Linked DNA regions of Homo sapiens: all the other regions are linked to region 1. Evidence: promoter capture Hi-C in 16 types of primary human blood cells and fetal thymus (Javierre and others, 2016). All regions are on one chromosome and are shown on one strand. Each heading gives the region's core, a stretch centred on a gene start or on the middle of the fragment in contact. The rest is flanking DNA. Distances are from core to core; before and after follow the strand shown.

Region 1 (3,641 bases), core at 539-3,038:
TTCTTACAGATTTAAACTGTACTGTTTCAGGCCCTGTCCACAAAATAAGGAAAAAACAAACCTGAACATACCAACCTTTCAATTAAAGAAACCACCTTCAGAATCAACAAAAGCAAACATTTACTGAGCAGTATTATCATGTTCTGGCACTTTTCTAAGCACTTAAAATGTATTAACTTATTTCAATCAAACCAAAACAGATGTGTTGAGTAAAAAGAGCCCTGGAATCACAGAAAATGTAAATGAGTTTTAGTTCCACTGTGAATTTTGATTTGTTTCCATAGCTCGAAATGAGGGGGTTTAATAAAAATGATCTTTAAAGGTCATCTCAAGGCTAAACTAAGATTCTACATGTAAAAATTTGGCCAATAAGTGTTAGTCCGGAAGCCTCAAGAGTGATGGGGCAGTTTGGACCATCTCAAAAACACAGAACCCTACTAAAAAAGAACGTATGACAGTGTGTCTCAGTTCCTCCTCCTTAATATATGTAAATTTCCTATCATGTTTTTTTTTAAAAGGCCTACATTTTTCTAATACTTGGACACAACTGATCAAACCGAGGCGAAGTGTGTACCATTGTAAAAGAAATCATTGAAGAGTTCCATTTGTTGTTAAAAGTTTCGGTCACTTTTAATAAACCTGGAGTAAACAAAAACTTAAACATTTTAGTCGAGTTCTGGGGTAAAAATGATTCTTCTAGTGTCTGGTTAAAGGGATCTAAGGACCTACTGGGATTCAGCAAAAGACGTTCCACGTCTCAAATACACCCAAAATCTCAATACAACACTAAAAGAAAAGTGAGGGGCCAGCACGAAATTTCTGTTAGGGGAAATTTCAGCTGCGTAGTTAAGGAAATCAGGACTTCCCGGTTAACTATGGGGTCTTTGCCGCAGCTCACAGCCCGACACAAAGCTACAAGCCCGGAGGGTCGGTGGCTCACGCGTGGATCGAAAGAACCACGAAGGTTTGGGGAATGACACTGACCTGTTAGGTTTACTTCATGTCTCACTTACCACCATCAAAAGAGGTTCATTGATAGCTTTATTAGCAAAATTAGTAACAGAGTTGCACGTCTGTAACACACACACACGCGCGCGTGCGCACACACACACATACACCCGTGGGTCTATGGGAACATTGAGGGAGACAATCTCCAGGTTAAAACCACACAAAAACTATTTGGGAAACACAAAGACGCAAGACACAAAACAAATTTGGAGTGCAAATGTGCAAGACACACTCAGTGGGAACACAAAAGAGAAAAGCACAGCGGCTTGACAATTGGGACGGCGCCCGGCCCCACGTGGGGCCCCAGGTGGCCCCACCGCCGCCCGCACCCGGCCAGTCTCTGCAGCCCGCACGCGTCCCCCGCGGGGCGCGCGGCTCTTCACGGCGACAAACCGAATCCCGAACTTCGCCGCAGGGACCCCACGGCCGACAAGGAGGAGCCCGGCGCCGCCACCCACCCGCGGGGCCACCGACCCGGAGGCCCGCGCCTCGTCCCGGGGCCCCCGGCACGCCCGGGACCTCTGAGGGGGCGCGTCCGCCGACCCGGCCATCCCTGCGGCGCCGGGTCCCCAGCGTGTCGCCGCCGCCGTCGCCGCCGCGCTCCTCGGGGGGAGGGACCAGCGTCCCGGCGCGAGCCCAGAGGCCGCCCACCCGCGCCACTCCTTACCCGCGCCCGCCGCGCCAGCGCCTCAGAGCACCGAGGGCCGCCGCCGCCGCCGCTGTTTCGCCGGCCCCGGCGCCCGCGGCCGCGCCGCCGCCATCTTGACTCCAGTCGGAAGTGACGTCGGGCGGCGAGGCAGTGGCCTGCGGGGCTGGGGGGCTCCGGGACCCCCGGTCTCCCCACGATCCCAGAGCCCGGCCCTTGACCCTGCGCCGTCGCCCAATGGCCACCACCCAGCCGCCCCTCGTAGGTCACCGCGGATCCCATGGCGGCGCCTCGGGAAGGAACCCCGGCGGCTGGCGTCGCGGCAAGTCCGACCGCACCCTAGGGCTAGGATCCTGCGTGGTTCAAAGATTCTCAAAGAATCAAAAAGACTGAAGGAGGTGTTGGGGGGGCATGTCTATCGTTGGAGGTCATTAAATATCTGACAAGTACATAAACGTAGACCTTATACTTCTACGTTTGGATCTATACCAAAAAGATCCAACTCCAGGCAGACAGACGCAGCTGCTGGGTTTATTTGCTGCCCTAGTACCCAGGAGCAGTGACCAACGCTGCCCTGTGCCCGCGATGTTCCAGTGCAGCGCCTCTGAGAGCGCGGTAGTAGTCCTGCCCTTAAGGAGCTTGCTGTTCCCAAGCGGGCAAACAAATGGACTGCAGAGACGACGACTCATAGATGTTCTGATGAAGATGAACTGGGTGGAACTGGAGATGGCTCTTCGACATCCAAGGGTGGAGGCCTAGCACGTGGTTGAAAATGAGTTGAGTCGGGGAGAAGCACAGGCTGGAGATGAGCTGGAAAGTTGGGAGTTGTCGTTATAGATGGTGCCTGGAGCCTTCAGCACTTCAAGATAAAGTAATCCTCTGAGAATGAAGTCAGGAAGAATCCGAATGTGATGGCTACGTTGGCCATCTGCAGAAAGCACCCAGTGGAAAAACAGGATACTAAGGGCAGGTGTGCTTCCAAAAATTATGAACGATCATTTATGTAACAGGTTTAATCTTAAGAAAACGTGTTGGCCGGGCGCAGTGGCTCACGCCTGTAATCCCAGCACTTTGGGAGGCCAAGGCAGGTGGATCACGAGGTCAGGAGATCGAGACCATCCTGGCTAACACGGTGAAACCCCGTCTCTACTAAAACTACAAAAATTTAGCCGGCCGACGTGGCGGGTGCCTGTAGTCCCAGCTACTCCGGAGGCTGAGGCAGGAGAATGGCGTGAACCCAGGAGACGGAGCTTGCAGTGAGCCAAGATCGCCCCACTGCTCGCCAGCCTGGGCGACAGAGACAGACTCCATCTCAAAAAAGAAAGAAAACGTGTTGTATCAACATATATCATGTTATCTTATTGTAAAAGAATGAGGCTAGGCCGGGCGCGGTGGCTCAGCCTGTAATCCCAGCACATTGGGAGGCCGAGGCGGGTGGATCACGAGGTCAGGAGATCGAGACCATCCTGGCTAACACAGTGAAACCCCGTCTCTACTAAAAATACAAAAAATTAGCCAGGCGTGGTGGCGGGCGCCTGTAGTCCCAGCTACTCCGGAGGCTGAGGCAGGAGAATGGCGTGAACCCGGGAGGCGGAGCTGGCAGTGAGCCAAGATGCCCCACTGCTCTCCAGCCTGGGTGACAGAGCGAGACTCAGTATCAAAAAAAAAAAAAAAAAAAAGAATGAGGCTATAGCTGATGATCGAGTCGGTTATAGTAAACAAATGAAGATCACCTCATTAGAGTAAATTTTATTAAGGCCTTGAGAAGTGACAGGGCTTAAGAAAATAAGGAAATAAATCAAACCTCAAGGGTTTGCTTATTTCTTCCGCTATTCAAGGAAAAGAGACCCTAGATCTGGGAGATACCACGTGCCTGTCATCAAAGTAGTATTCTCTGTTGTGGAGCAAAGTCATCAGACTTCTGCACCCCTTACCTAGATTAATACCTTCCAACTGGATCCATGCATCGAAATTATCTGGGGTATCT
Region 2 (3,641 bases), core at 762-3,261, 110 kb before region 1:
GTCACGAGTGAGCCTCCCCCAAGGGCCTGGCTCTCTGTCAAGGTCAGGGCTGCCCCTGTTTGAATTCCTCCCCTGCGCTGTGCAGCCAAGGCCCACGGTCAGCTCAGTCTACTCGCCTGTGCAAGAGTTAAGGAGGAAACGGAGGACCCATGCTTCATACAACTGTGCTCCTGACGGGCCACCAAGGCAGCTAGTGGCCACCCCCGCCAACCCCATTCTAGCTGGCTGGTGCCCCAGGAGACCCAACCTGGGAGGAGACAGCCAGCTGGGAGGCTGCTGGAGACATGGACTCCTGTGTCCTGTTGGGCAATAAGAAACAGAGCTGGCAAAGAGCAGGTCCCCTCCCTACGATGTCCCCCTTCCCAGGGAAATGTCTACAGTGGTGTAGCAAGACCAGCAGAAGCTTTGGAGACAGACAAGCCCTGCATCATCAGTATCCAGCTTCTCCCTTTCTCTGCTGTTAAGTATCCAAAAGCCAGATCAATCACACAAAAATAACACCCCGACCTCCCAGGCCTCTCTAGCCAGCCAGTGTGTCTCCGCTCCCTTTAGCATCTCTTCCGCCTGGGCTCCTGCGGATGCAGCAACCATAGCGTCTCCACCAGGGGGCGCGCCTCCTCCCCGGCTCAGGGCGTCCATCTGGGTGGAACGAGTAGGTCGGGGGCAAAACCCCTGAAGGCAGAGGCCCCTCTGCTACCCCTCATCCACTGCCTGGCCTAATGGAGGACCACGGCAGCCAACATGAACATGGCCTCCATGACTCCCAAGGACTTTCTCAGTTTTCTCTCTGAACCCTCCCAGCAGCCCAGGAGGTAGGAAGAACAAGTGCTTTTATACCCCTTTCACGGATGAGAAAACTGAGGCTCAGACGGATATGGAGACTTTCCCAGGCGAGCAGAGCCCTGGGCTTTCAGCTCCTTAGGCCACCATTTTGAAGAAACACCAGGTCACTAATTGGGTGTTTCCTGTTAGGACGGGGACAGGATGTCGTGGGGGACTGTCCTTCCTGATCAAGAAGTGCTTCACTGTCAAAGAACTCATGAGAGCACAGTGCCCCCAACCCCGAGATGTTAAATACCGAGGACCAAGGCTCCGGAATTGGGTGCTTCTCCAGGGCACAGTAGCAGTTAGCGCAGAGCCTCATGATTCTTGGTTCCCACCCACTAGCTGTGTGACCTCAGTGAGTCATGGACCTGTCTGAGTTCCAGGTTGATCTTCTGCAAATCGGGAAGACCAGTTTGGGGTTACAGTAATGATTAACTTTGGAGAAAGGTCTCCGTGCAGGGCATCCTGGCACTCCAGTAGGTATCAGCACAGTGTCGTGACTGCAGCAGTTGCGGTTGGTGGACTCATATGGAGAAGTCATCACCCCAGGAGGATGCAGTATGGCCGCTGGAGACCTGGGGGTGGCCTCTAATAATCCTCATTCTCATTGACTGTATGGCCCAGGGTAAGCCACTCCCTGTCGCTCGGCCTCGGAGCCTCGGTTTCCCCCTCTGTAAAATGGAGACAGTCCCTGCCAGCCTGCCAACAGAGAGCAGGGCTGGAAGCATTTTGGTGACCAGGATTGAGAGCACTTTGCTTTCTGGGAAGAATCCAGCACATGTGAGATGCTCCTAGTGGGTGTGACCCCAGGAAGCATCGGAGCAGGAGGTGAGCCAGGGTCCTGACTGGTCCTTAAAGACTGAATGTCAGGTAAGACTTCTGTGTCAACACTTCGGTCAGACTTTTGGCTCAAACTCCTGGGCAGGGCTCCAGACCCGCACACCCACTGCCTGCCGGGCCCCTCCACTTGGATGTCTAATGAGCATCTCACTTTAACACGGCAAAGTGGGACATGCTAGGGTCCCACCTTGCTCCCGCCCCTACCAGGCTCCAGCCACACTGGACTCTTGTCACTCTTCTCAGGAAATGGCACTGCCAAACGTGTTGTTGTTACAACTAAAGCCCAATAGCCCTTTTCTTCCTCTTCTATTCATTTTGCTGCTTCGGATTGGCCATAGACCTAGAAACCACACACATTTGAAGCAGGCACACCATCGAGCAGTGTGCTGTGATCATGGGGCCTGTGAGACCCCCCGCTGTGCTTACCCTAAAGCTGATCCATCTCCGGGTCCCTTAATTCTGCCTCCAGGTCCACACACCTCTCTCCACTCCCATTGCCACCACCCAGCACAACCTGTGGCATCAACACCTTCCACGGGGACTGTGGCAATTGCCACTGCACTGTCCCCACTTCGACGCTGCACCCTCCCCCCCACCACCAATCCATTCTCCACTAAGCAACAAGAGAGGCCTTTATAAGGACCACCGGACATGACCACGACACTGGACCACATCACTGCCCAGTGCAAAAGTGGCCCAAGCCTTCCCACACAGAGTGCTGTGCACCTGCTTGCGACCCTCCCAGTCCCCTCACGCACTCTGTGTTCACCCTGTGCACTTGTCTCTCAGCCAGGCCAAGCTCTTCTTACCTGGTTGCTCCCTGCCTGGCTTTCCCCTGCCCTGCCCTCCTCTGCCCACAGCTCCCTCCCACCTTGTGGGTCTCAGCTTAAGTGTCTCCTGAAAGAGGCCTTCTCTGACCTCCCCACCTTAGTGGCAACCCCAGCCCTGTTCCCATAGCCTTTGGAGTTCCCTTCTGTCTTCCTTCTGTCTTTCTGTGACTTTCTGGGCCTTTTGCTCACAGCTTTTCCCACAGCAATCACCTTGCCTGTCGAGTTGCTTACTCCTTCAACACTAGAAGAGGATGTCTTTGAGGGCAGGGACTGAGTCTTGCTGACAGTGGAATCCCCTGTGTCCCCAGGCACAGGACCTGGTACAGGAAATATTGGGTGGGTGGGTGGAGGCAGCCATGAGGGATGCCCCTGGTTTGCAGGTGGAGGAAACATGGTCTCAGGACCACACACCCTCCCCAGGCCCGGCCCCTGTCCAGGGATGGCAGAGCCCAGAGTCTCTGGCACAAGGACAGCCTGTGCGCTCCCAGCACTGCCTCCAGTTACAAGGGGATGCCCCATCAGCCAGCAGGGGGCGAGCACAGTGTCACAGGATGCTTCCTGTGGGTTATGGTGATGGCATGGTCACTGTGCAAGTAAGCGTTAACGAGCCATTGCCTCACTTATCCAGAGGCCCCTTAACCTTCACAATCCAGAGAACAGCCTAGAACGTTGTAGAAAGTCTGAGCCATCCACAACCAGTGCCCACTGATCTGTAAACTCTTTTTTTTTCTTTTGAGACAGAGTCTCACTCTGTCGCTCAGGCTGGAGTGCAGTCGTGCTTTCTTGGCTCACTGCAATCTCCACCTCCCAGGTTCAAGCGATTCTCCCGCCTCAGCCTCCTGAGTACCTGGGACTACAGGCACCTGCCACCATGCCCGGCTAATTTTTGTATTTTTAGTAGAGACGGGGTTTCACCATGTTGGCCAGGCTGGTCTCAACTCCTCACCTCAGGTGATCCACCCACCTCGGCCTCCCAAAGTGCTGGGATTATAAGCATGAGCCACCACGCCTGGCCCAGATCTGTAAACTCTGACAGAAGCTCACTGCATGCAGGCACTAAAATTCATGCCTGGGCCTGCAGCCTGTCCCTAAGGAGCACAAAGTCACACAGAACTCAAGCTTTCAGCCAGGTGCGGTGGCTCACGC
Region 3 (3,641 bases), core at 784-3,283, 120 kb after region 1:
AAAAGCCCACAATAGCTTCGCTCAATGATGTTATTCATCCATATTCAAGTCGCCTCGCTCATTATTCTCAGACAAAAACCCTGCTGGGCCTCTGCTCCTCTGGCAGCCAGGCAACTCAGCACCCACCCTCACTCAGCCAGCCCCGCATACCACTTCTTTCTTTAGTAGTGGAGTTTCCAGCACCAACGATGGTTTTTCGGTTTTAACGCCATCTTTTAGGAGTACCTTTGACATTCAGGAGCCGGCTGAAGGGAATCACAGCTAAAGCTTCCCTGGGCAAAAACAAAGGATGTTACCCAGCAGCTTTTTCTTTAGCAGGGCTGAGATGCTGAAGTGAGGGCGCTCCCTTGCTTTGCCCTGGTGAGCACAAAACGGTGTCATTTGCACATTGTCTCGCCAAAAAGGAAATGTAACTGAAAATACAGAACTGTATATATTCCAGTGGAAAGAGAAGTTCCAAAGATAGGACTGCTACGAATAACCCACGGCCCCTATAAAAAGAGTTGCTCAGTCCCTTTGAAGCAGACAGCACAGCATAGAGCAGAACTCTGTCATTTCCCTGAGATTGGGTATTTTTGTCTGTGTGGACCATTGTAGGAGGCCAGGTTAGGCGCACCCCTCCTGCAAACCGCTCCCTCTCCAAGAAGTATTCCTCAGGGCCTAGGCCTACCTTGATCCTCAATTTTTGGAAAATGTTTACTTTTCACAGCATAACTCAGCAACCTCCAGCCCCAAAGATCACGAGTTAGGTTACAATTCCTTCAACCAACATTTAGTGAGCAACTACTATGTGCCAGGCATTGTTTTGGCCGTGGGGAATCATGGCTGGATGTAGCTGCGTCCTGCAGAACATATGTTCTATTGAGGAAATATAAAAATAAAAACCCAAGAAAAGAAAACAAAATGTTGACAGATGTCAATGGAGACCACCAACACAGCAACCCAGCGGGAAGAGGTAAGGCTCCAGGAGAGGACAAAGGGTAATGGAAGCTGTGGACGCCCCCACCCCAACATGGGATACAAAATATTTAAAGCCTAAGGAGTCACCAACAGACATTCAGCCACTGATGTTGTTGCCCAAGATGAACACGTGGCTCAAACCCACTTAAACCTCAATGTTCGTAACGCGTAACAATCCTCATGCACTCACACTCCTCGGAAGCCTCCACTTGGATCCTTTCCACACACACTATCCTCTCTAAAGAGGATAAAGGAGGCCTCTTCCAGTCCAGTGACGGGGTGCTGAGTGTGTCCAACAGGCAGGGCGCCAGACTAGGTAGTCCCAAGGGGGACCAGGGCCACCGCAGGGCGGGGAACCCTCCCCTTGGCCCAAGCCCTCCTGAACGTCCCTCCTGATTCTACGAGGCCAGCTTCTCCCGAGGCGTGCGTATTCCTCCAACACACCGCTCTATGGGAAGGAAACCCCAGCCACTGCTGCCAGCAAGCGGGGCTGCCTACTGTGAACCTTCCACCCGATCTCTCTGGTGCTGCCGACTCGGAGGGAGGCCCCCTGTGCTGCCCACCTCGCAGCCTGTGGATTCCGGGGCTCCTCCCGGCACACCCGCGCAGCTGCGTCTTTGGGACCTGGCACCGACTAAGCCGCTGCCTCTCCTCCTCCGGCGCTCAGCCGCCTGACACGCACACACCCTCAGCTCCCCCGCGCTCCCCTGGACAACCTCGAATACCAGGCCCGGGCATTCCAGCAAGTCTCTGCTCGCTCGTCCCCATCAGCGACGGCAGGAAGCCACTTGCGCTGGGTCTTACCTCCTTCTGCCAGGACCCAGAGCGACGCGCTTCCCAAAACGAAGAGCAGAGCTGACACCTTCCACATCGTTCCCGTTGAGTTGTTGCTCTCCTGGGGGCCGAGCAGCAAGATTCTGAGCTGGGGGAAAATTAAAAAGCACCGCGGCCACAGGCCCAGCCTGGAGGAGCGCGACGGTGGGGGGGCCGGAGGGGTGGGAGCAGGAGCCCCGGAGAGGGAGGGTGCCCGAGCTTCCCAGACCCTAGGCAGCCGGACAGCAAACTTTGCAGTTGAGAACTTTCCGAGCGGAGTCAGCATTTATCTCTCCCGAGGAGGCGGGGGAGCGGGGTCGGCCGCAAGGTGGTCTCCGTCCGGGCGCGCTAGGCCCGCCCTCGGGCTCTGTTTGGCCGGCGCCAAAACGATGATCTCAGGCCAGGTTTAAAGTTACAGGGCCGCAGCTGCGGGGGCCGCCAGGACTGCGGGCCCTGGCAAAATGGGCTTTTATTCTGCTCAACAACAGGAGGGAAAGGGACCACATGCAACAAACGGGGTTTTAAAAATTATATATAAATTTTAAAAAACCTATATTTATTATTATTATTTTTTTAAGAGTAAGGCACAAGTCTATGTTTTTCTTGTTATGGGCAGAAGTGAGAAGTAAACTGTTTCTTGAGTGGCCAGTAGTTTTAGAACCAAGCATGGGGTTTTTCCTGTAAATATTGAATTTGATGGCTTAAAAACAAAAAAAGTTGGCCGTCATCTGGGTGGGCCAGAGGCGGCCCGCGCTGGTCAATTGCGCCCTTGTCCCGGGGACCGGAGCGGGCGGGCTCCGGGGGGCTGCCCCAGAGCTGGCTGGTGGGGGAGTTTGGCAGACCGGGTGGCTTTGGCAGTTTTGAAAAAGAGGCTGAACTCCATCCGCCTCTGCCGACCCGGGGATCCAGCGCTGCGATGCTGTGGCCCACCGACGTGCGCAGTTGGATTAGGCCGGGCCAAGCGGTGACCCGTCTGGTCGCCAAACCTGTGTCCCCTTCCAGGCCTGGTTCACCCTCTTTATTCCTGAGTTTGCTCCCATAATCCTCACTTTACTGGTTTAAGCGATCTTGCCTTGATCTCAGGTACCAGATATCAGCAACCAGAGAACTTACGTCTTTTACTTTAATTCCTTCTGAATTGCTGGAATTTAAAAAAATAAGAACAGGAGTTTGGGAAGTGGTCTCTGCTCCACTCCCAGATGCCACAAATTCCATTCAACAAAAGAACCTGAAGACTAACGCTGTCTCAAAGCTCCACATTGCGTGAAAATTGTTTTCAGATGCTTATCTTTGACCCCTCCCCATTATAAATTTACTTTCTAAGAATCACAGGAGAGATTGTTTTAAATAAATGCCCAGTTTCCTGGGTTCCACCCCAAACTCATTAATCAGACCTTTTCGGAATTCCTATTTTAAACCAGTGTCGCTGGAGAACTTGTCCCCATGAACATTTGGCAAACCTTGCCCTTCATCATAGCTTCTCAGCCAGATCTACCTGGGGCACTGGTTATGCAGGTGCAATTCTGTTGTGGGATAGGGAGAGATTCTGCATTTCTAAAGATCTCCCAGGTAACGTCTTGTCCTGGGGCTACAAACAGGAGCTGAGCACCTGAACCTAGAAGATGAGGGGTAGCGGCAACACCCCTAGAGCCAAGGAGTTGGAAATGTAAAGAGAAAACTCGTGATACAGATACTCTTTCTTGAACTGACTTCCCCATCTTGGAGATGCATTTTATGACTCTAGTGTCAATAATGTCTGTTGACAGGAGGAATAGTGCATTGTCTGTTGAGCCTGTTAGATGGAGAATAGATGCACATCTATTCTGCTTATGTGTAACTCCAAGGTCACACACAGAAAGAAAGATGGC

The links. Contacts are between HindIII fragments. The CHiCAGO score rates a contact against its expected background, and 5 or more counts as called.
Region 2: a fragment that was not itself captured here is called in contact with the fragment with the promoter of PRDM2 in region 1 in 3 of 17 cell types (total CD4 T cells, activated CD4 T cells and total CD8 T cells); the score reaches 6.9 in total CD4 T cells.
Region 3: the fragment with the promoter of PDPN here is called in contact with the fragment with the promoter of PRDM2 in region 1 in 3 of 17 cell types (naive B cells, total B cells and monocytes); the score reaches 6.5 in naive B cells.

Annotation. Positions count from the first base shown.
Region 1 is chr1:13,698,335-13,701,975 of GRCh38, reverse strand. PRDM2 (PR/SET domain 2) reads right to left here and starts at 1,788. Exons shown (of 10, transcript NM_001393986.1): 1 at 1,676-1,788. RefSeq lists a silencer at 1,266-2,035. The HindIII fragment of the contact is 13,472 bases long and covers 1-3,641 here.
Region 2 is chr1:13,810,772-13,814,412 of GRCh38, reverse strand. The region is part of intron 8 of PRDM2 (PR/SET domain 2); the gene reads right to left. Among named protein-coding and RNA genes, the nearest start is that of PRDM2, 110 kb to the right of the region's middle. RefSeq lists an enhancer at 488-537 and a silencer at 2,985-3,034. The HindIII fragment of the contact is 3,211 bases long and covers 406-3,616 here.
Region 3 is chr1:13,582,224-13,585,864 of GRCh38, reverse strand. It overlaps PDPN (podoplanin), which reads right to left and starts at 2,033. Exons shown (of 6, transcript NM_006474.5): 1 at 1,765-2,033. The coding sequence starts at 1,831. RefSeq lists an enhancer at 1,592-2,130. The HindIII fragment of the contact is 6,524 bases long and covers 270-3,641 here.